Linked DNA regions of Homo sapiens: all the other regions are linked to region 5. The links are contacts of gene promoters, found by promoter capture Hi-C in human tissues and cell types (Jung and others, 2019). All regions are on one chromosome and are shown on one strand. Each heading gives the region's core, a stretch centred on a gene start or on the middle of the fragment in contact. The rest is flanking DNA. Distances are from core to core; before and after follow the strand shown.

Region 1 (3,062 bases), core at 488-2,987, 180 kb after region 5:
AAGTGACAAACAAGCTCCTTCTGGCATTTTTTATAAGGGTATTCATCCCGTGACCTAATCACCCTCCAAAGGCCCCACCTCCTATTACCATCACATTGAGGGTAAAAATTACAATATATGGATTTTGGTGGGCCACAAACATTAAGACCATTGCATACGCATCATGCAGTGTCAGAGTTACTAATTCATATCATTGTAAAAAACAATGCAAAAGTAGAGTTCAACATTTTTTATAGTTCTTTTTGTCTTTAGACTGAGGATATATAGTCAAACACTGTACTGTTTAATAAGTTGCTTAAATTACTTCTTGCTGTCACCTTTAGACTGTTTATGTTATTGATTTGAAATACATTTAGGTTAATTTGTTATTCTATGATTTTCACTTTCCTAGTTTATCTACAAAGAAATCTCATTCTTGATTTTATATTATTGGGTATGTCAGTCATCAACATGTTCCCATGAGTCAATGCTCTACCACATATTATTCTCAGAGAAGTGCCACTCCCCTCCTTCCTACCCCTAAACCAATTCCACAGTGTTGCCACCTAACACCTTTATGTAACTAATTTTATTATTTTCATTACCACTTTTTTTTAACAGAATAGATGTGTTTCTTATTTTTCCTTTTTACTTAAATGTTAGGATAGTACACTTCTAATTCTTCTATATTCACATAATAACATCTTGGAAATCATGTCATATGGAGTAATTTATTTTTAAAACTGCATAAATTCCATTGAGTGGTTTATATAACAGTGCTGCAATTTATGGACATTTCAGTGACTTCCAATATTTTATTATTACAAATGATGCTGTTATAAATACACTTGTACATTTGTATATTATCCCTGTTGAAGATACATCAGAAGAGTACATCCCAGAAAGCAGGATTGAAAAGTGAAGATATTAATAGAAATTTTGTTGCATATTGTCAAGTTGCCTTAATTTTTTGGTACCATTTCCATTTGCAGAAGTAATGTATAAATATACTCTTGCCTTGAAACTAGCTAACAAAATGTGTTATTACAACATTTTTAAAGTTTTGCCAATCAAATGGTAAGAAGTGTATTTAAATTTAGTTTTAATTTATATTTCTTGTTTTTTAAATAACATAGAACATTTTTGCATATTTCCTGTGTCAATATTATTTTTCTTTTTGTAAATTGTTCAAATCTATTACCCATTTTTATGTTGAGTTTTTGGTCTGTTCGCCTCAATTTTTTTTTTTAGAACAAGGTCTTGCTATGTTGCCAAGGCTTGTCTTGAAGTCCTGGGCTCAAGCGATTCTCCCACCTCAGCCTTGTAAAGTGCTGATTTACTAACTAGGGCCAGCCAAAGGCTCAACCATCACTATCTTTCATTAACATTTTAATCACTTTTGGCTTTTCTGGGTCATAGGGTCCTGATGGCAGAGAAACTTACATAGCAGCTGGGACACATTGCACAGACTTATCTTGGATGAGTCAAAATGTTTTCAGGTCACACAAAATAGGCAAAGTAGCACGCCTCAATGAGGAATAAGTAGCATACAATAGCCCCAGTGGTCCACTAGGCGTTGTGACGCTATTTTTTGATCGTAGGAAGGGCTATATTCTACTTGCCCTACACCCAGAAGGGATAGCTCAATAGGCCTACATCAGTGAACTTGTGGAAATTTCACCAAGGTGAAAGGCCCATGAATTATTATAAGATTTATTTCTTCCCTCTGGTATGTATGTATCTTACAAATATGCCTAGATTCCTTCCTGCTTCCTTCTCACCAGGCCCAATCATCAAAATATAAACGTGCCATTTGATAATAGGAGTTAGTCGTTGCCAAGATGTTTGAATATTTCTCCTTTTGAGTACATAGTCACACGGGTTAATGGCTGTAGGGCCTTGTGAAGCACTCTGCAACGTACCAGCGTCCATCCTAATACAGAACTGACCTCCCGTTTATTGAAGCAATTGTGGATTTGTAAACTGGACTTGTCTTAGAATTGATTTGGGAGATGTGATTCTGTTAGGTAATTCCAGTTGGATTTCTGTTTACTTGCAAGAGAATCCTCCTGCCTATACAAATAAAGTAACAGTGTAATAGATTTCCTGTCAAGTTATTTACTATGAATGCCAAGATCAACAACACAAGGTTAAGAAGCCATGCATAATGACTGACGCTTTCAGGTTATTCTGATTGAGCTGGAATTTGATGCCTTGTCCTCATCTTTTTCTTTCCCACTTTCTGAAGCACAAATCAGAGCAACTAGTAAATACCACTATAGTCCTTCGTTTGACTATTATGTCCGAAACTAACAAATTCATGGTCATCTAGAATCATGCCTTCTATAGGTATATGCTTGGGATTATCCAATATATTTGGCATATATTTATCACCATGTCGTGGCTTTAACAACCAATGCCCTATTTTCCACTGGAAATAAAGTCAATAGTGCCTTTAAACTAAAAAAGATGAGAAATCCAATTTGAGAAAACACAGAATTGATTTAGAAAACTCATTCTTAAGATTCTCTTCCTCTAGAACCACTTCTGGAACAAAATATCTTTTGGTCAGCGTTGAAACGGAGTAACAAAATCAATATGACATATACAAATGATTTATTGCAAGGAACTTTCTTATGCCACTGTGGGACTGGCTAAGCAACTGCAAAAAACATATGGCTATACCCCAGGATGGCTCAGATGGAACACTAACCCACGAGAGGAAGATGCTACTAAAAGGTGCAATTTCTTTTTTCAAAGAAGCTTCAGCTCTACTTTTAAATAATTTCAAGTGATTCATCAGGCCCACTGACATTATCTCACATAATATCCCTACTCAAAGCCAACTGATTATGGGCTAAATATCTACAAAATGCCTTCCATATATATATATATATATATATGTATTACTGTTTGATTAAATAACTAGGGACTGTAGTCTAGGCATGTTGTAATTAAAATTGATACCACACAGATCCTCATCATCAGAAAACTGTTTAAGGAAAAATTAATATTCAGTACACCAGGATACAGCAGGCATTAGAAATGAGGTTGGAGGTCAACTTATTTATACAGCCTTTAAC
Region 2 (2,859 bases), core at 174-2,673, 240 kb after region 5:
TATGGCCGCCTAGTATTCCATGGTGTATATGCACCACATTTTCTTTATCCAGACTGCTATCGACGGGCATTTAGGTTGATTCCATGTCTTTGCTAAATACCAGACCTATGGCTTTTTAACAAAAAAAAATTTTCTATGTTCTTCAGGGCTGAATTACATGCCTTCAGATATCAGATCTCTACATGGCTTTCTCTTCCTATATTTGAGGTCTCTGTTCAAATATAAGAGAAATCTTTCATGACAAAAACTTATTCTGTGACAGCCCCTCCTTTCATCTCTTTATTTCTTTACCCTGCCCTATTGTTCTTAAAAGTGTCTCTCGCTATATATTGGGGGTTTGCTATGCCCTCGTAGCCCATTATAATATCATCTTTGTGAGATCAAGGTCTTTGTTCACTGCTGTATATTTCACATCTAGGACCCTTGGCTGGCACAGAGTAGACCCTTCAACAATCATATGTTGAATGAATGGTTCAGGTGATAAATAATGAGGCCCTGATCCACATGGTGTATCTATCAACTATTCACTGAGTCATTAAAGTAGTCATTCTGCAAATCTTTGGGTTCCTTCCAAATGCTTGTAGCAACTTAGTAGGTGTTGGGGATGGAGCAGGTAACGAAACTCCACATTAGACAAGTGTAATGAATATAAGTAAGTAAATACCTAGAAGGATGTTAGAGAGGAATAAGGGCTTAGAGAAAAGAAGTAAGCAGAGATGAGGGATAGGAAGTGTTGGGGTGCAGTTAGGAGACCGAAATTATCTACAGGATGGCTAGAGAGAGACTCTGAGGTGGTGACATTTGAATAAAGAAGAAAGAGTTTCTTAGTGTGGCTCTCCTAATAGTCTCTCTGGCCCTAGCCTCCTCCCCCTCAAGCCTCCTCCCGTTTGAGAGGGTAATCTGTTTCTAACATGAAAGGAATCTTTTTACTCTCCTTTCCAGAAGTCCTTCAGTGTTCTCCTGCTGACTTGCAGATAATTTTGTGACTTGAACGTCATCATGGTTTGAATTCTGCCTTCCTGCCCATCTCTTTCTGCCTGTTATTTGTCTTCACATCATGACATTTGTTCTCTGGGAGTTTTATAGTGATTTGGATTCTCTGGCTAATAGAGCTCAGTCACCCTCCAGGGCTCAGATTAAGCTACGTTTGTGTAGAACCCCTGCATTCCACTGTGGGCTTATGAGCCCATTCCTCATGCCGCTAAAGGATGCTGTGCACTACTCTGGCATTTAGCCATGTATAGTGGAATTGCCAGCTTCCTCATCACTAGACTGTGAGCATCTTGAGGCTGGGGAATTGCATCTCTTTTAGTAAGGTTCCCACAAGTCTTCACTGAGTTAATAAACTCATCTATTTAATGAAGTAGTAATAAATTCACCTGTCTAGTGCTAATTATGCAGGCAGTAAAATAGTGTTCATTCTCAGTATTTTAAGGGACACATTCTGTGGGTTCTGTAACAGTGACTCATGTCGTCGCTGACTTTGAAGAGCAGAGAGTACTTTCCTAAGATGGTATTTAACAAAATCCAGAGATGCTTTTCCTTCCAAAGATGACTCTGATCTTGCCCAAGGACAGCAAATATGGTGAAAGACCTAGAGGAAAAATTTGGAAATAAAACCCTTGCTCTCCAAATCTTCCCAACTGGAGTCAGTCTCAGGGAGACTTAGACCAACTAGTCTAGTCTTCCTATATGCCTCTCCATGTCTGATGGTGGGTTCAGTCATTTCTGCTGGGCAATTACTTTGTACAGGAACTGTTTTAGGTACTTGGGATATAAAGCTGAATAAACATTCATCACAAGACAGATGGTTGATTTGCTATTATCTCTTTTTTTTCCCGAGGCGATGGAAATATATCCCCTGCAAAACATTCTTACTGAGCAGAGGTTGCTGGGCAAATATAGAGTTAGAACAAAGTGAATTACAAATTCTAAAAGAGTATTTCAGGCTGGGTGTGGTGGCTTACGCCTATAATCCCAGCACTTTGGGAGGCCAAGGCGGGTGGATCACTTGAGGTCAGGAGGTCGAGACCAGCCTGGCCAAAATAGTGAAACCTCATCTGTACTAAAAAAACAAAAGAAACAAAAAAAATTAGCCAGGAATGGTGGCGGGTGCCCATAATCCAGCTACTGGGGAGGCTGAGGCAGGATAATCTTTTGAACCCGGAAGGCTGAGGTTGCAGTAAGCTGAGATCATTCCACTGCACTCCAGCCTGGGCCACAGCGCAAGACTCCATTTCAGAAAAATAAATAAATAAGTATTTCTTCTAAGATTGGAAGGTTTTATGTTTCCCTTTTCAATAGTAAGGGTTCTTCTATCTGAAGTAAGAGAACTAAGAATAATTTACTAATAAATCAAGCAGTAATTAACTAATACTAAGCTTTTAATCTGGGTATTTTACTCGTTTCCACCCTCCATAGAATCAGAATCATACCCTGAGAGCTACAAGAACTCCATTTTTCACTGTGCAGAGGCTCTCTGCTGAAGGGTCAAGTGGAATCTGGAATCCAGCCCATGTTTCCCCATCATCAAGCCATGTGAAGCTGCAGACTCCGTGAGTGCCTTAGTCCATTTGTGCTGCTATAACAAACAATACCATAGGCTGGGTGGCTTAAACAACAAACCTTTATAACTCACAGTCCTGGAGACTGGGAAGTCCATGATCAAGTCACTGGCAAATCCAATGTCTAATGAGGCCACTCTTACTGGTTCGCAGAAGCTGTTGTCTTGTATCTTCCTGGGAGGAAGAGAGAAAGAGCTAGGTTACTTGCTTTTCTTACAAGGAAAGCAATCCCATTATGGAGGCTTCACCCTCATGACCTAATTACCTCCTAAAGGCCCCACCTCCCAATAACATC
Region 3 (2,700 bases), core at 1-2,500, 160 kb after region 5:
TGGAATCTAATTTGGAAATTAAAAGGAATGAAGTACCAACCCATGCTACAACATGCACAAACCTTGGAAACATCATAAGAGAAAGAAGCCAGTCACCAAAATCCATGGATTAGATGATTCCATTTATATGAAATGTCCGAATAGGCAAATGTATACATAGAGGAAAAGTAGGTTAGTGGTTGCTCCAGATTTGGGGTGAGAATGAGGTTTAATTGTAAATGGGCACAGAGTCCAACTGAGGGTGAAAAATAACTAAACTGAATTATGATGATGGTTACTCCACTTTACAAAGTTCCTAAAGATCACTGTACTCCTGAAATGAGTGAATGCTTTATGTAAAATATACCTCAATAGAGTTGAAAAAAAATTGCTAATCCACATGTCATTTACCTTCATAAGACTGAATTCTGAGTCCATATTGTTGGGAGATTTATACTTGAACAAACAAATGAATAAATGAAGAGAACTAGAAGTTCATCTTTAGTAGAATGCCCACTAATAATGTACCTTCCAATAAGAAACTTGAGTTTTTTTAAAAAAGGTAACTTTACAGCGGACAAATCTGAAAGGCATCATCTTGGCCAAGTGAACACAGTTGAGATCACCAGTGAAGGGACAAACCACATCATGTGAACCCTGTTATGTTGCAATAAAGAGGAAACCTCATCACTTGTGCAATATCCTTACCAACAATACATAATCTGAAACTAAACATGAAATATATCAAACTCCAAATGAACATCTTTCTCCAAAATAACTTTCCTATTAAAAAAAAAACCACCATGTTTATAAAAGACAAAGACTGTGGAATCTTTCTAGACTAAAGAAACTGTGGAATGTGACAACTAAAGACAATGCATAAACTGGACTTTGAATGGCATTGCAGGTGAAGGGTGGGGTAGGGGACACAGTCATAAGGACTTTATTTTTTTATTTTTTGAGACAGAGTCTCGCTCTGTCACCCATGCTGGAGTGCAGTGGCGCGATCTCAGCTCACTGCAACCTCCGCCTGCTGGGTTCAGGTGATTCTCTTGCCTTAGCCTCCCAAGTAGCAGGGATTACAGGAGCATGCCACCACACCCGGCTTTTAAAAATATTTTTAGTAGAGACAAGGTGTCACCATGTTGGCCAGGCTGGTCTCGAACTCCTGACCTCAGGAGATCCACCCGCCGTTGCCTCCCAAAATGCTGGGATTACAGGCATGAGCCACTGTGCCTGGCATAGGACTTTAAATGAAAAACTGAACAAATTTAAATATGTAACTACAGATTAGATAACAGGATGTTAGGTAATATGCTATTCAACACTATCTAATGAGTAACACTACAACTACTAGTAGTCTTTTAACAGATCTGATATGTAATAGATAACAATATTATTTAATATCTAATATTATCTAGCATGTTATGTGAAACCCTATACCATCCCTTCTTAAATACCTCTTACCAACACACCCCACATTTACCATGGTATGTGGGCTTCCTTGCTGCAGAAAGCCATAATCAGCTGTCTCTGGTTAGTTATGTTCCTGGTGGTATTTGGCTGATGGTCATCAACAAAGCAACCAGGAAAAATGTAAACAATTGGCAAATTTGGATAGAGTATGAGAACTCCTTATACTATTTTTGCAACTTTTCTATAGCTTTTAAATGATATAAAGATGAAAATATTTTATTTTGTTTTTAGTTTTTAATTTTTTTTTTTTTGAGACAGAGTCTCGCTCCCTAGCCCAGGCTGGAGTGCAGTGGCGCGATCTCGCTCACTGCAAGCTCCGCCTCCCGGGCTCACGCCTTTCTCCTGCCTCAGCCTCTGGAGTAGCTGGGACCACAACTGCCTGCCACCATGCCCAGCTAATTTTTTGTATTTTTTTTTTTAGTAGAGATGGGGTTTCACCATGTTGGCCAGGATGGTCTCGATCTCCTGACCTCGTGATCCACCCGCCTCGGCCTCCCAAAGTGCTGGGATTACAGGCGTGAGCCACCGCGCCCAGCAAAAATATTTTAGATATCAGGAAATAGTCATAAGGATAATGGGAATAATAAAATTGAGCATTATATAATATGGCAGTTCACTAGTTTATTCTTTTTTTTTTTTTTTTTTTTGAGTCTCACTCTGTTGCCCAGGCTGGAGTGCAGTGGCGTGATCTTGGCTCACTGCAACCTCCACCTCCCGGGTTTAAGCAATTCTCCTGCCTCAGCCTCTAGAGTAGCTGGGACTACAGGCACGTGCCATCACGCCCGGCTAATATTTGTATTTTTGGTAGAGATGGGGTTTCACCATGTTGGCCAGGCTGGTCTCAAACTACTGACCTCAAGTGATCCACCTGCCTTGGCCTCCCAAAGTGCTGGGATTATAGGCATGAGCCACCACAACCAGCCTCACTAGTTTAGTCTCTATTAGCAATATTTAAAATTTTCTATAGTTAAAAGACATATGGGAAAACACATTAAAATATAACAATTTTTAAAAAAATGTTTATCAACAAATATAGAAGTAGACACAAAGAAAGACAAAAGAAATCAATTAGAAGCTTAACAGTTACTACCTTTACATCTTGGATACATGGGTAATTAAAAAACTTTTTCTACTCTCATTTCTCCTATTTCAGACTTTTCCACAATGATACAGTTCCACAACAGTACGAAATACTTGGAAAACATGAAACAAAATAGTTGAGAAATTTTTAAAAATTCCTAGACG
Region 4 (2,850 bases), core at 27-2,526, 160 kb before region 5:
TACTCCAAAATATAATTCAGTAAAGCAAAATTAGGAATGAGGTTTTATGAATTTAGAGGACATACAAAAATAAGATGTTTCGTAAGAACACTGCAAAACAGGGAAGACAGAAATTAGAAATATACTAGCAGAAATTAGAGGTATATGGTTGTACTCTATACATGAATTGGCATAATATGATTTGAAGATAGACTGTGAAAAAATACAGGAATATATTTTAAGCCCTAGAGTAACCATTTAAGAATTTTTTAAAGTACATCTCATAAGTCAGTAGTAGAAATTAAATTCTGGTTCCAAAAATAGCAATGTAGAAGCAAGCTGGCTTCACTCCTTTCAATAGAAAACTAAAGACAAATATACAGCACCAAGATTATCACCAGCAATATCCCAGAACTCAAATAGAAGGAGACAGTTCCTGAGGACACAAATAAGTGGAAAAAACTGAGCAGATGATAAGAGAAGTGGACTTTCCTATCCACAGTGCCCTTCCCCCTAATCTGCCTGGTGCCAAGACTGTGGAAAATTTTCCCGTCTCACGGTTTCTATACTGGAAAAAGTTAATCAAGGTGGACAACCAGCCTCCTCCCCATCTTGGGTTTCCTGGCAGGAGACTTGTCCCTGACTCAACCCACAGAAAGCATCAGGAGTAACTGAAGAGAGAAATATCCCTGAGGACAGCCAGAGACAAAGGAGGGAGGTGGGAATACTGTCCCCGTCATGGAAACTCTACTCTGCAACTCAGCCAAAGGAGACAACAATCAGAGTGGCTGTTCAGCATCACTATACTGTAGGTCCCCAATCATGAACCACTAGCCAGCTTTCTTACAACTAGGATATCCCCTATGGGACCTACCCCTTTTGGGATGGGTGGCACTATGATTATTTACTAGAACTGAGGCAAACCTGGAGTTAATAGGCTATCTAGTACCAAAAAGGAGTCAGTAACCTAACGGGAAAGAAGAAAATCAACAGGTAAAATATAAAGAATCTCTAGGGAGCCATATCCAATGAAAAACAAAACCAGCCAGACAGAGAATAGTGGAATGTATAATCATTCGATGCAAAGACAGACACACATCCATAAGCAACAACAGCAAACGGGGAGCCATGGCATCCCACAAATGGACAAAGCAAGGAACCAGTGACTGATCCTAACAGGAAGACGATATGTGAACTCTCTGACCAAGACTTCATAAGAGCTGTTTTAAGGAAACTCAGTGATCTCCAAGATAACACAGAAAAGCAATTCAGAAATGTATCAGAGAACCTGAACAGAGAATAAAATAATTTTTTAAAATCAAACAGAAATCTTGGAACTGAGAAATATGTTTGCTGCACTGAAATATCCATTAGAGGCTCTCAACAGCAGAATGTATCAAGCAGAAGAAAGAATCAGTGAGCTCCAAGACAGGCTATTTGTGAATACACAGTCAGAAGAGAACAGAGAAAGAAAAAGAGCAAATATTGACTGAAAGAGATAGAAAATATCTCAAATGACCAAAACTAAGAATTACTGCTGTTCAGGAGGGAGTTGAGCAAGAGCAAGGAGTAGAAAGTATATTCAACAAAATAACAGAAAACTTTCCAAAATTTAAGAAAGAGATGAATATCCAGGTACAGGGAAATCATAGAACAGCAAACAGATTTGACCCAACTAAGACTACCCCAAAGCATATAATAAACTCTCATAGGTCAAGGAGAAAGAATTATAAAAGCAGCAAAAAAAAAAAAAAAAAAAAAAAAAAACAAGCAAATGACATATAAAGGAGCTCCAATTCATCTGGCAAAAGACTTCTTAACAGAAGCCATATAGGCCAGGAGGAAGTGCAGAGACATTTTCAAAGTGCTGAAATTAAAAAAAAAAAAAAACTATCATCCAAGAATACTGTATCTAGCAAAGTTATCCTTCAAATATGAAGGAGAGATAAAGTCTTTCCAAGATAAACAAAAGATGAGAGAATTTACCACAACAGACTTCTAAGAAAGGTTCAAGGGAGTTTCCAATGTGAAAGAAAAAGCTACTAATGTGCAAAATGAAAGCTTCTGAAACTGTAAAACCCAGTGGTAAAGTTAAGTACACAGACAAACCAAGAATAGTATTGTAATTGTGATGTGCAATCCACTCATAACTAGTATGTAGCCCAAAAGAAATCTATCAAAAAGAATAATAGCAAGAGCAATTTGTTAAGAAATAGGTAATATAAAAATATGTACATTGAGACAACCAAAAATCAAAAGGTGGGACGGATGGGAGTTAAGTGTAGAAGTGTTTCTTCTTTTCATTTTTCTTTGTTTCTATTACTTGTAATCTAAGATAAGTTGTCATCTCTTTAAAATAACCTGTTATATCTATAAAATGTATTTTGTAAGCTTTATGGTAAACACAATACAAAAACCTATAATAGATTCACTAAAAGTAAAAAGCAACAAATTAAAACATACTGTTAACCACAAAGGAAGACAGAAAAATGAAGACTCTTAAATATTTAAGCAAAAAAAGAAGACAGTAAGAAAGGAAGAAAGAAAGGGAGGAGTTACAAAACAACCAGAAAACAAGCAACAAATGGCAGTAGTAAGTCCTTACTAATCAATAATAACACTGAATGTAAATTGACTCATCCTCTGATTAAAAGACATAAAGTGGCTGAATGGATAGAGAAACAAGACCCAACTATATGCTGCCTGCAAGAAACCCACTTCACCTGTAAAGACACACATAGTCTAAAAGTGAAGGGGTGGAAAAAGACATAGCTTGCAACAGGCAACGAAAAAAGAGCAGGAGTAGCTATACTTGTATAAGATACAATATAGACTACAAATCAAAGACTGTAAAAAAGACAAATAAGGTCA
Region 5 (2,710 bases), core at 122-2,621:
TGGAGTGCACCGGTGTGATCTCAGCTTACTGCAGCCTCGCCTCCTGGGTTCAAGCGATTCTCCTGCCCCAGCTTCCCAAACTCCTGGGATTACAGGTGTTGGCCACCACGCCTGGCTAATTTTTGTATTTTTAGTAGAGATGGGGTTTCGCCATGTTGGCCAGACTGGTCTCAAACTCCTGGCCTCAAGTGATCTGCCCGCCTCAGACTCCCAAAGTGCTGGGATTACAGGCGTCAGCCACTGTGCCCAGCCACTATTTTTTAAAAGTCATAGAATAGCCCAGACCTTGAGCAAAGTCCCCACAGTGAAGTCCCAACCTATTTTCACATGATACTAGCCAGCTGCCTATGGCTCATGCAGAACATACCAAAGAAGACTCAGGTCTAGACTCAGACTGCCTCGGTTTCAATGCTAGCTCTGCCTCCTACTAGCTAGGTGGCTATGAGCAAACAAGTTATGTTCTTATGTCTCAGTCTCCTCGGAAAAAGAGTATCACTTCACAGAGCCACTGTATAGTGGAAAGGTGTTCATTTGTATAAACCCCTTAGAATGGAACTTAGCAACTAACGCTAAATTATAATCACTTCTCATGCCCAAATACATGACCCCACACATTCTCTGATTTATGTGAATAAAACAAGAATAACAACAAGTCTTACTCACATGGGGTTCTGCTGCCTCCTCCTCTGTGCAGTGCTTTTTGAGAAGTCAGGGCTGGGGAAGAAAAACAGGCTATGAAGTAACCAGGATTGTGTCTTCATCCCGGATACATCACAGTGGCATCTCCCAGGACCAGTTAGAAGCAACCCTCTCCTTCCTCAAAAGAGGTCAGGGACAATCCAGCTTCATGGACTCACAGAATTTCGCCACAGAACGGGAGTTTCTAGGAAAATTACAGTAGTATTGGTAATTCACGTGCCAGGCAGTTTTACACTTTTTGTATTACCTCGTTTTCTCTCAAAACATTCTATTAGGAAGTTTTTGCTTTTATTTTCCTTCAGAACAGCAAACGAAGGCACGGGGATTAACTAACTCGCTCAATGTGATACTGTATGAAGTGGTAGGGCTGGCTCATTAGGTGGGGGAGTCACAATGAGGGAGCGAACAGCCCGAGAGACCTTCAAACCCGACGAAGCATCACCCCAGCCGCCCGAAGCCAGTACGCCCCCAATTCTAACAAGCTCCGCCCAGGGAAACGCAAAACAGCATCCTGGCCCCTCAAACCTCCGCTCTTAGCCGCTACTCCTTTTTTTCCCCAAACAAAAGACCGCTAGCTGCTGACCACAAGTGCATTTCGGGGAAGTTTGAAAGGTTCCTGAGAAGCTGACCTGAATCACCAAAGCCAGGGAAAAGATGGCTGCTACGTCGTCTTCCTGGGCGGAAGTGCCTGCGAGTATCAGGAGGACCTGGACTACGCTTCCCAGAATTCCACAGCACTGCCTTCCTCGAGCCGGAAGTGCCTACAACTACCTAGAACGATTGGACCTACAGTTCCCAGGATTCCGCAGGGGAAACATTTACAGCCTTACTGCAGCTGAGCTATGCGCGACTACACGGAACTCCGGACTACATATCACAGAATGCTGGAGTTGGGGGAAAAACAGAACAGTACCGCCCTCCTGGACTACACTTCCGGAATGTCCAAGCCTTCTGATGTGGAAGTGTCCAACTACCTTGAGCTCCTGGTTTTCATTTCCCAGAATCCCTCACTTCTCTTTAGGTATTATTATGGTCTGAGTGTTTATGGCCCCCACCAAATTCGTATGTTTAAATCCTAACTCCCAAGAAGATATTAGGAGGTGGAACCTATGGGACGTGATCAGATCAAGAGGGCAATGCCCTCATGAATAGGATTAATGCTCTCTTATAAGTGGCCTGAGGGAGCTCCTTTGCCTCTTTAGTTATGTGAGGACACAGCCAGAAGGACCATGTATGACTTAGAAAGCGGGACCTCACCAGACACTGAATCTGCTGGCACCCGATCTGGGGCTTATGTGCCAGCAATTTCACTCCTAAGTAAATACCCAGGAGAACTGAAAGATATCCACACAAAAACTTGTTCTAAAAAAGTTCATAGCAGCATTAGTCATAATAGTCAAAAAGTGGAGAAGACCCAATGTCCATCAGCTGATGAGTGGATAAACAAAATGTGGTCTAGCCATATAATGCAATATTATTTAGTAATGTGAATGAACAAAATATTGATTCATGTTATAACATAGATGAACTCTGAAGACATTATGTCCAATGAAAGAAGCCAGACACAAGATACCATATATGGTATGATTCCATTTATATCAAATGTGCAGAATAGGCAAGTCCATAGAGACAGAAAGTAAATTAGTTGTCTCCAAGGCTGGGGAGATGTAGTTGGGAATGGGGAGTGACTGTCAATATGTAGGGTTTTTTTTTTCTTACTTTTTTAGAGACAGCGTCTTGTTATGTTTCCCAGAATGGAGTACAGTGGCTATTCACAGGCATGATCATAGCACACTGCAGCCTTAAATTCTTGGGCTCAAGTGATCCTCCCGCCTCAGCCCCCTGGGTAGTTGAGACTACAGGCATGCACCACCACACCCAGCTCATGTAGGGGATTTCTTTTGGGAGCAGATGAAAGAGTTCTAGGATTAGATAGTGGTAATCATTACATAATATTGTGGATCTTTTCAAAGATAGAAAAATGTTATGTGACAATATCCCCTAAAGCGTT
Region 6 (2,830 bases), core at 106-2,605, 200 kb after region 5:
GACAGATAAAAATGTGACAATATGAGTAGTAAGATGGAATTTTAACAGCAAGAGAGGCAAGCCCTACTCACTTTGAATGTGGTCATTTTTCCTTCTACTTCAGGGAATTTGCAGAGTCCTGAATGAAGCAGTTCAAGTGAAGGTGAAATCATGCCTGGAAAGTGCCAGGAAAGGCAGAAAAACAGACAGGAAATGGTAACTAGGAATGCCGACCACCAACATAGACAAGTATTTTCAATTAGCACATGAATGTTCATAGCAGCATTACTCATAACCCCAAACTGCAAACAAGCAAAATGCCCTCCTACGGGTAAATGAATAGACAAATCATGGCATATCCATACAACAGAATTTTATTTGGAAATTCAAAGGAGTGAAGAACTGGCTCATGCTACAACATGTATGAACCTTGGAAACATTATGCTAAGTTAAAGAAGCCAGTCTAAAAACCCCATGGATTGTAAAATTCAATTTTATAAAATATCCAGAATAAGCAAATGTATATATAGAGAAAGTAGGTTAGTGGTTGCTCCAGATTTGAGGTGAGAATGAGGTTTAACTGTACATAAGCACAAGGAGTCCAATTGGGGGGCGAAAATGATCTAAACTGAATTATGATGACGGTCACACCACTGTTCAAAGTTCCTGAAGATTATTAAATCGTACGACTGAAATGGGTAAATTCTATGACATGTAAAATACACCTCAATAAAGTTGGAAATAATAACAGTTAATCTACATGTTATTTAACTGGATTGTGGGTCCATATTGATAGAATATTTATAGTTGAAGAAACTGATTAATAAATCAGGGAGAAGTGGAAGCTAATCTTTACAGGATAATGCCCACTAATAATGTATCTCCCGTAAGAAACGTTTTTATTTTCAAAATTTAATTAAAAAGTAACCTTTCAGTGGAAAAATCTGAAAGATATCATCTTGGCCAAGTGAACAAAGTTGAGATCTCCAATGAAGGGAAAAACAGACATCATTTGGCCCCTGTTATGACACTTCAACACTTCTGTGGTATCCACACCAACAATGCATAATCTGAACCTAAACATGAAATACATAAATCCCAAATGACTATCTTTCTATAAAATACTTTGCCTATATACTTCAAGGATGTCAAGAATAAAAAGACAAAGCCTGTTGAATCTTTCTAGATTAAAGAAGACTACAGAAATGTGACACCTAAAAGCAGTACATAAAATTGGACTTTGGACTGGGGGATGGGGGAAAACAGTTACAAGAACTTTAAAAAGCACAACAAATTTAAATATGGGAGTTTGGATAGAAAAGATGATGGTGTCTAGCCATATCTAATAGGTAACAGAATTAACTAATATTAATAGTCTTTTAATTGATATCTAGTATTTAATAGTGATATTACTTAATATTATATCTAATACTACCTAGCATCTTATATGAAACTCTATAGCCAGCCCTTCCTAAATGCCTCTTACCAAGACACTCCATGATCACCTTGCTATGTGGGGTTCCTTGATGCAGAAAGCTACAATAAGTTGTTTCTCATTATAAGTTTGTTCCCAGTGGTATTTGGCTGATGGGTGTTAACAAAGCAAAATACAAAATGTAAATAATTGGAAAATTTGGGTAAAGAGCATATGAAGAGGCAGGTGCTGTGGCTTGAGCCTGTAATCCCAGCTACTTGGGAGGCTGAGGCAGGAGGATAGCTTGAGTCTAGGAGTTAAAGGCTGCAGCAAGTTAGGATTGTGCTACTGTACTCCAGCCAGGGCTCTTAAAGCTCCAACATAATCCTTGACTCCATGTCCCACATCCTGGTATAAGAGATAGACTCCCAAGGCCTTGGGCAGCCAAGTGATATGACTGAGCAGTGGTCTCAGGACCACTTCTCAGAGGGCAGTGGTCCCCTTACCACAGATCCATTAGGTAGTGCCCTAGTGGGGACTCTGTGGGGAGCCCTCACATTTCTCCTTGGCACTGCCCTGGTAGAGGTTCTCTGTTGGGGCTCCCCCACTGTGGCAGGCTTCTGACTGGGATCCCAGGCTTTCTCATACATCCTTTGAAATCTAGGTAGAAGCTGCCAAGCCTCCTTCATGCTTGCATTCTGAGCATCTGCAGCCTTAACACAATGTGGAAACTACCACAACTATCAAGGCTTGAACCCTCTGGAGCTGCAACCCAGCCTGCGCCTGGGGCACTCTAAGCTGAGGCTGGAGCCAGAGTGGCCGGATTCAGGGCACAATGTCTTGAGGCTGCTCAGGGCAGGGGGTCCCTGGGCCTGGCCCTTGGAACCATTCTTTTCTCCTAGGCCCCTAGGCCTGTGATGGGAGGGACTTTCCTGAAGACTTCTGAAATGTCTTCCAGGTCTTTTTCCCATTGTCTCAGATATTACCACTTGGCTTTCTGTTAGTCATGCAAATCTCTTTTGCGAGTGGTTGCTCCACAGCCGACATGTATTCCTCTCCTAAAAATGCTTTTTCTTTCTCTACTAAATGGCCAGGCTGCAAATTTTCCAAACTTTTATACTCTGCTTACCTTTTAAATATAAATTCCAACTTTAAGTCATTTTTTTGCTCCCATATATAATTGTAGGCTGTTTGAAGCAGTGAGGCAGCCAGGCCACTTCTTGAATGCTTTGCTGCTCAGAAATTTCTTTTGCCAGGTACCCTAAGTTATCACTCTTAAGTTCAAGCTTCCAGAAATCCCTAGGGCATGAACACAAAGCAGCAAAGTTCTTTGCTAGGACATAACATGGGTGACCTTTACTCCAGTTCCCAATAACTTCCTCATTTCCATCTGAGATCTCATCAGCCTGGACTTCATTGTCCATATTCCCACCAGCA
Region 7 (2,828 bases), core at 92-2,591, 190 kb before region 5:
CTCCTGCCTCAGCCTCCCGAGTAGCTGGGACTACAGGTGCCCGCCACCACGCCCGGCTAATTTTTTGTATTTTTTGTAGAGACGGGGTTTCACCATGTTAGCCAGGATGGTCTCGATCTCCTGACCCCGTGAGCATTTTCACAGATTGGTCGTTATGTCTTTTTATTTTCCTCTTCCTTTTCTGGATTGAGTCAACCCATTCACCGTCCTCCCTGAATCATCCTGTCCTCCATAAGACAACTTACAATATTTGCTATATCAAGAGCAGGGTGAAAATAGGTGATAGATTTTTCTCAAAGAAGAAAAAAATTTCGAGGTTTTACAAGAGACTTATCCCTTCCCATAATAATAACATTTTGTCTGTATCAGTACAGCCCTTCTATTTGCCTTATGACTTGCATTTCATCATCAGTAGTTAAAGCAGAGGAAACGTGGGAACCATTTACTGTTTCTGCTTATGGCCTCATCAACGGTTGCATCTGTTTTTTTGTGGATTCTTGGCATCCACGTTCTTGTGGATCTTGCAACAAACACATTATGGTAGGTAGCAGCAGCACTATCAGTTTCAGACGCGTCCACACCAAAATGGAATAAAAAGGTAATCGAGTCAAAGAAAGGTTGAGATCCTGTATTCCTTAAATTCGGTGTCCAGTACAAATCAGCCCAATTTCCTTTAAGTACCTGCATTTTTAGCGCACACATCGCTTCCATTCTGTAATTCTTTTCTTTTTTCTTCCTGTATTGCAAGCTTCTCTGTTCTCTCCTTTATGGGATATTTTCTTGGTAAGTAGGTAGGTAGGTAGGTAAAGTCCGCTTTGGTTGAGTTTATTTGGGTTTGTGTCGCGTTTGAAGAAAAATAAATTCAAACTCTAGGGGGAAGGCAGTAGAACTGGACTAGCAGTATAAAATTGGATGGCTAACCAAAAGAGAATAGTGACTATACAAATACTGACTATCCAAACGAGAAAGAGACGACTTAAGGGAAAGTGCTACCCTGCAAGAAATTCCGGGAATTGTCCAGAAGATCCACAGGGTCAGAGACACACGCGCCAGGAAAGGCGCCTTTCATGCACGGTCCGCTGGGTAAAACAGAGAAATATATATACGAGCTCTCTGTCTTTGGAAGCATTTCGGTTCCAGGAAGGGGGAGTTAAGGAATTCCTTTGGGACCGGCACATGTGAAATATCATCCAGGCTCTCAGCTTGGCACCCGGTACTTGCGTCCTAGGCAGGCAGATAAGTGGAGAGTTTTTCTAGGAATTCTGGGAAATGTAGTTTGGGAGCCCCGTGTAGTCGGGTAACTTCCGCTCTAGGAGGCTGAGGCCGTCTCCCTGATCCCGTCGGGAATTCTGGGAAGCGTAGTCCAGGAGGTCTCGGTAGGCAGAGCCACTTCCGCCCCAGGTACGCTAGGCCGCGGCCTTCGTTCCTCCCAGAAAGGTGAGCGCTCCCCGCCCTGCTTCCTGCTCCTTCCGTCCATACTGATGTTCGTTTTGTTGGGGTCCAGTAGCAACCGGGCAGTAGCTCTAGGGGAGGATAATCCACTTGCGGCGAAGGGCGGGATTTGTGTTATCTTTGAATGAGCCTTCTCCAGTGTGGGGCAGCTGGCGCATCCCCACTTAGCGCCGGGGGTCCAAGATCCTACATCGCAGGGACTGGGGATCTCCTGGGTTCTGTACTTCCCCAGCCCTTTCCCCTGACCATCAACCAGCTCTGCCACTTCCTAGCAGTATAATAACAGGCGAGTATCTTAATCTCTCTGCCTATGTTTCTTTTTCTTTAAAATGGTACTAGTATCTATCTAATGGAGTTCTTTTGAGAGTTAAATAAAAAGACTTGGAACAGAGCCTGACAGGTGGTAGAAGATGGGTCTCTTGTTATTAGCACTTTTTAATTTTCTGAGAAGGACTCAGTTCCCTGAAAGCTTCTGTGAACCCAGGATGGGGTCAGAGCTCCAGCTGCAGAGTATCCCTGGCCCTTTTCTGATCACTGAGAGATTTTTCTTTAGGACAGGATCACTCCTGGCTGTCTGGGTAGTCCATTGTAATTCATGCAGGAGTTCTGATTTCCCCCATCCTCCTTTCCTTCTTTAGCCTTGACTTCTTGAAAAAGGCTGCAGGGAGAAGGAGGGAATGACCCTTTGGCACTTGGCAGCGGAGTCTCACCTGAGTAGTACTTATCATCCTTTCTTTTCAGGGAAGACGATATTTCCATCATTCACTGGCAAATTCTGCTCGAAGATGCGCTGATATTTGTTCAATAAATGCAGAAACGGATGAGGGAGTACTTGGGCATGAGTAATAAAGATAGTATTTAAACATTTAGTGCTGATCATTCTAAGAGTTTGATATGAATTAACATCTTTAATCCTCACAAGAGCCCTTTGAGCCTGGGTTGGGTACCACCATTCCCATTTTAAAGATAAGCAAACAGACATAGAGCATAGGTGGTTTATCTTTAGGTCACCCAGGTGGTAAGAGCCTGAGCTGGGATTTGAATTCAAATAGTTTCCATCCATTGCCTTAGTTCTTGATGTGTTTAGTATCAGCTTCAGAACACATATTTGGATTTTACTAGAGGACCGTGAAAGCAAGGTTAATAAGCTTTGAATTTTTGATTTTTTAAAATTATCTGTAATTTAATTTTATTTGAAATATTTATAGTTCATATTCTGATTATATAAATTATTGCATATTGTAAAAGATTAAGAAAGTATAGAAAGTGTAAAAGAAAAAAATTATGCTAACCACAAGATATAACAGTAACAATATTAATATTTCAATGTTTTCCTCTTCCAGTAGACTTCTTTTTGGATTTTCACCCATGTTTAA

What was found. Contacts are between HindIII fragments. The study calls those that stand out against the background at their distance.
Region 1: a fragment that was not itself captured here is called in contact with the fragment with the promoter of ZNF226 in region 5 in 5 of the 25 tissues and cell types used here (IMR-90 fibroblasts, adrenal gland, small bowel and 2 more).
Region 2: a contact is called between a fragment that was not itself captured here and the fragment with the promoter of ZNF226 in region 5, in 1 of the 25 tissues and cell types used here (IMR-90 fibroblasts).
Region 3: a fragment that was not itself captured here is called in contact with the fragment with the promoter of ZNF226 in region 5 in 1 of the 25 tissues and cell types used here (aorta).
Region 4: a contact is called between a fragment that was not itself captured here and the fragment with the promoter of ZNF226 in region 5, in 2 of the 25 tissues and cell types used here (IMR-90 fibroblasts and stomach).
Region 6: a fragment that was not itself captured here is called in contact with the fragment with the promoter of ZNF226 in region 5 in 8 of the 25 tissues and cell types used here (H1 embryonic stem cells, IMR-90 fibroblasts, adrenal gland and 5 more).
Region 7: a contact is called between a fragment that was not itself captured here and the fragment with the promoter of ZNF226 in region 5, in 3 of the 25 tissues and cell types used here (hippocampus, liver and mesendoderm cells).

What each region holds. Positions count from the first base shown.
Region 1 is chr19:43,979,243-43,982,304 of GRCh38, reverse strand. It overlaps a transcript of ZNF221 not described here. Among named protein-coding and RNA genes, the nearest start is that of ZNF155, 3.4 kb to the left of the region's middle. The HindIII fragment of the contact is 6,705 bases long and covers 1-3,062 here.
Region 2 is chr19:43,925,021-43,927,879 of GRCh38, reverse strand. ZNF45 (zinc finger protein 45) reads left to right here. Exons shown (of 10, transcript NM_003425.4): 4 at 2,422-2,555. ZNF45-AS1 (ZNF45 antisense RNA 1) reads right to left here. Exons shown (of 3, transcript NR_184050.1): 2 at 2,626-2,738; 3 at 1-1,594. Among named protein-coding and RNA genes, the nearest start is that of ZNF45, 8.8 kb to the left of the region's middle. The HindIII fragment of the contact is 3,949 bases long and covers 1-2,859 here.
Region 3 is chr19:44,004,128-44,006,827 of GRCh38, reverse strand. The region is part of intron 1 of ZNF230 (zinc finger protein 230); the gene reads right to left. Among named protein-coding and RNA genes, the nearest start is that of ZNF230, 2.5 kb to the right of the region's middle. The HindIII fragment of the contact is 3,707 bases long and covers 1-2,700 here.
Region 4 is chr19:44,320,798-44,323,647 of GRCh38, reverse strand. No RefSeq gene overlaps it. Among named protein-coding and RNA genes, the nearest start is that of ZNF235, 17 kb to the right of the region's middle. The HindIII fragment of the contact is 3,118 bases long and covers 1-2,835 here.
Region 5 is chr19:44,163,761-44,166,470 of GRCh38, reverse strand. It overlaps ZNF226 (zinc finger protein 226), which reads right to left and starts at 1,371. Exons shown (of 6, transcript NM_001032373.2): 1 at 1,329-1,371; 2 at 664-714. RefSeq lists enhancers at 1,350-1,469, 1,530-1,679. The HindIII fragment of the contact is 21,073 bases long and covers 1-2,710 here.
Region 6 is chr19:43,960,049-43,962,878 of GRCh38, reverse strand. ZNF221 (zinc finger protein 221) reads right to left here. Exons shown (of 5, transcript NM_001297588.2): 2 at 72-154. The coding sequence starts at 152. Among named protein-coding and RNA genes, the nearest start is that of ZNF221, 10 kb to the right of the region's middle. The HindIII fragment of the contact is 7,430 bases long and covers 1-2,830 here.
Region 7 is chr19:44,355,235-44,358,062 of GRCh38, reverse strand. ZNF112 (zinc finger protein 112) reads left to right here and starts at 1,383. Exons shown (of 4, transcript NM_013380.4): 1 at 1,383-1,437. RefSeq lists an enhancer at 1,074-1,574. The HindIII fragment of the contact is 3,070 bases long and covers 1-2,828 here.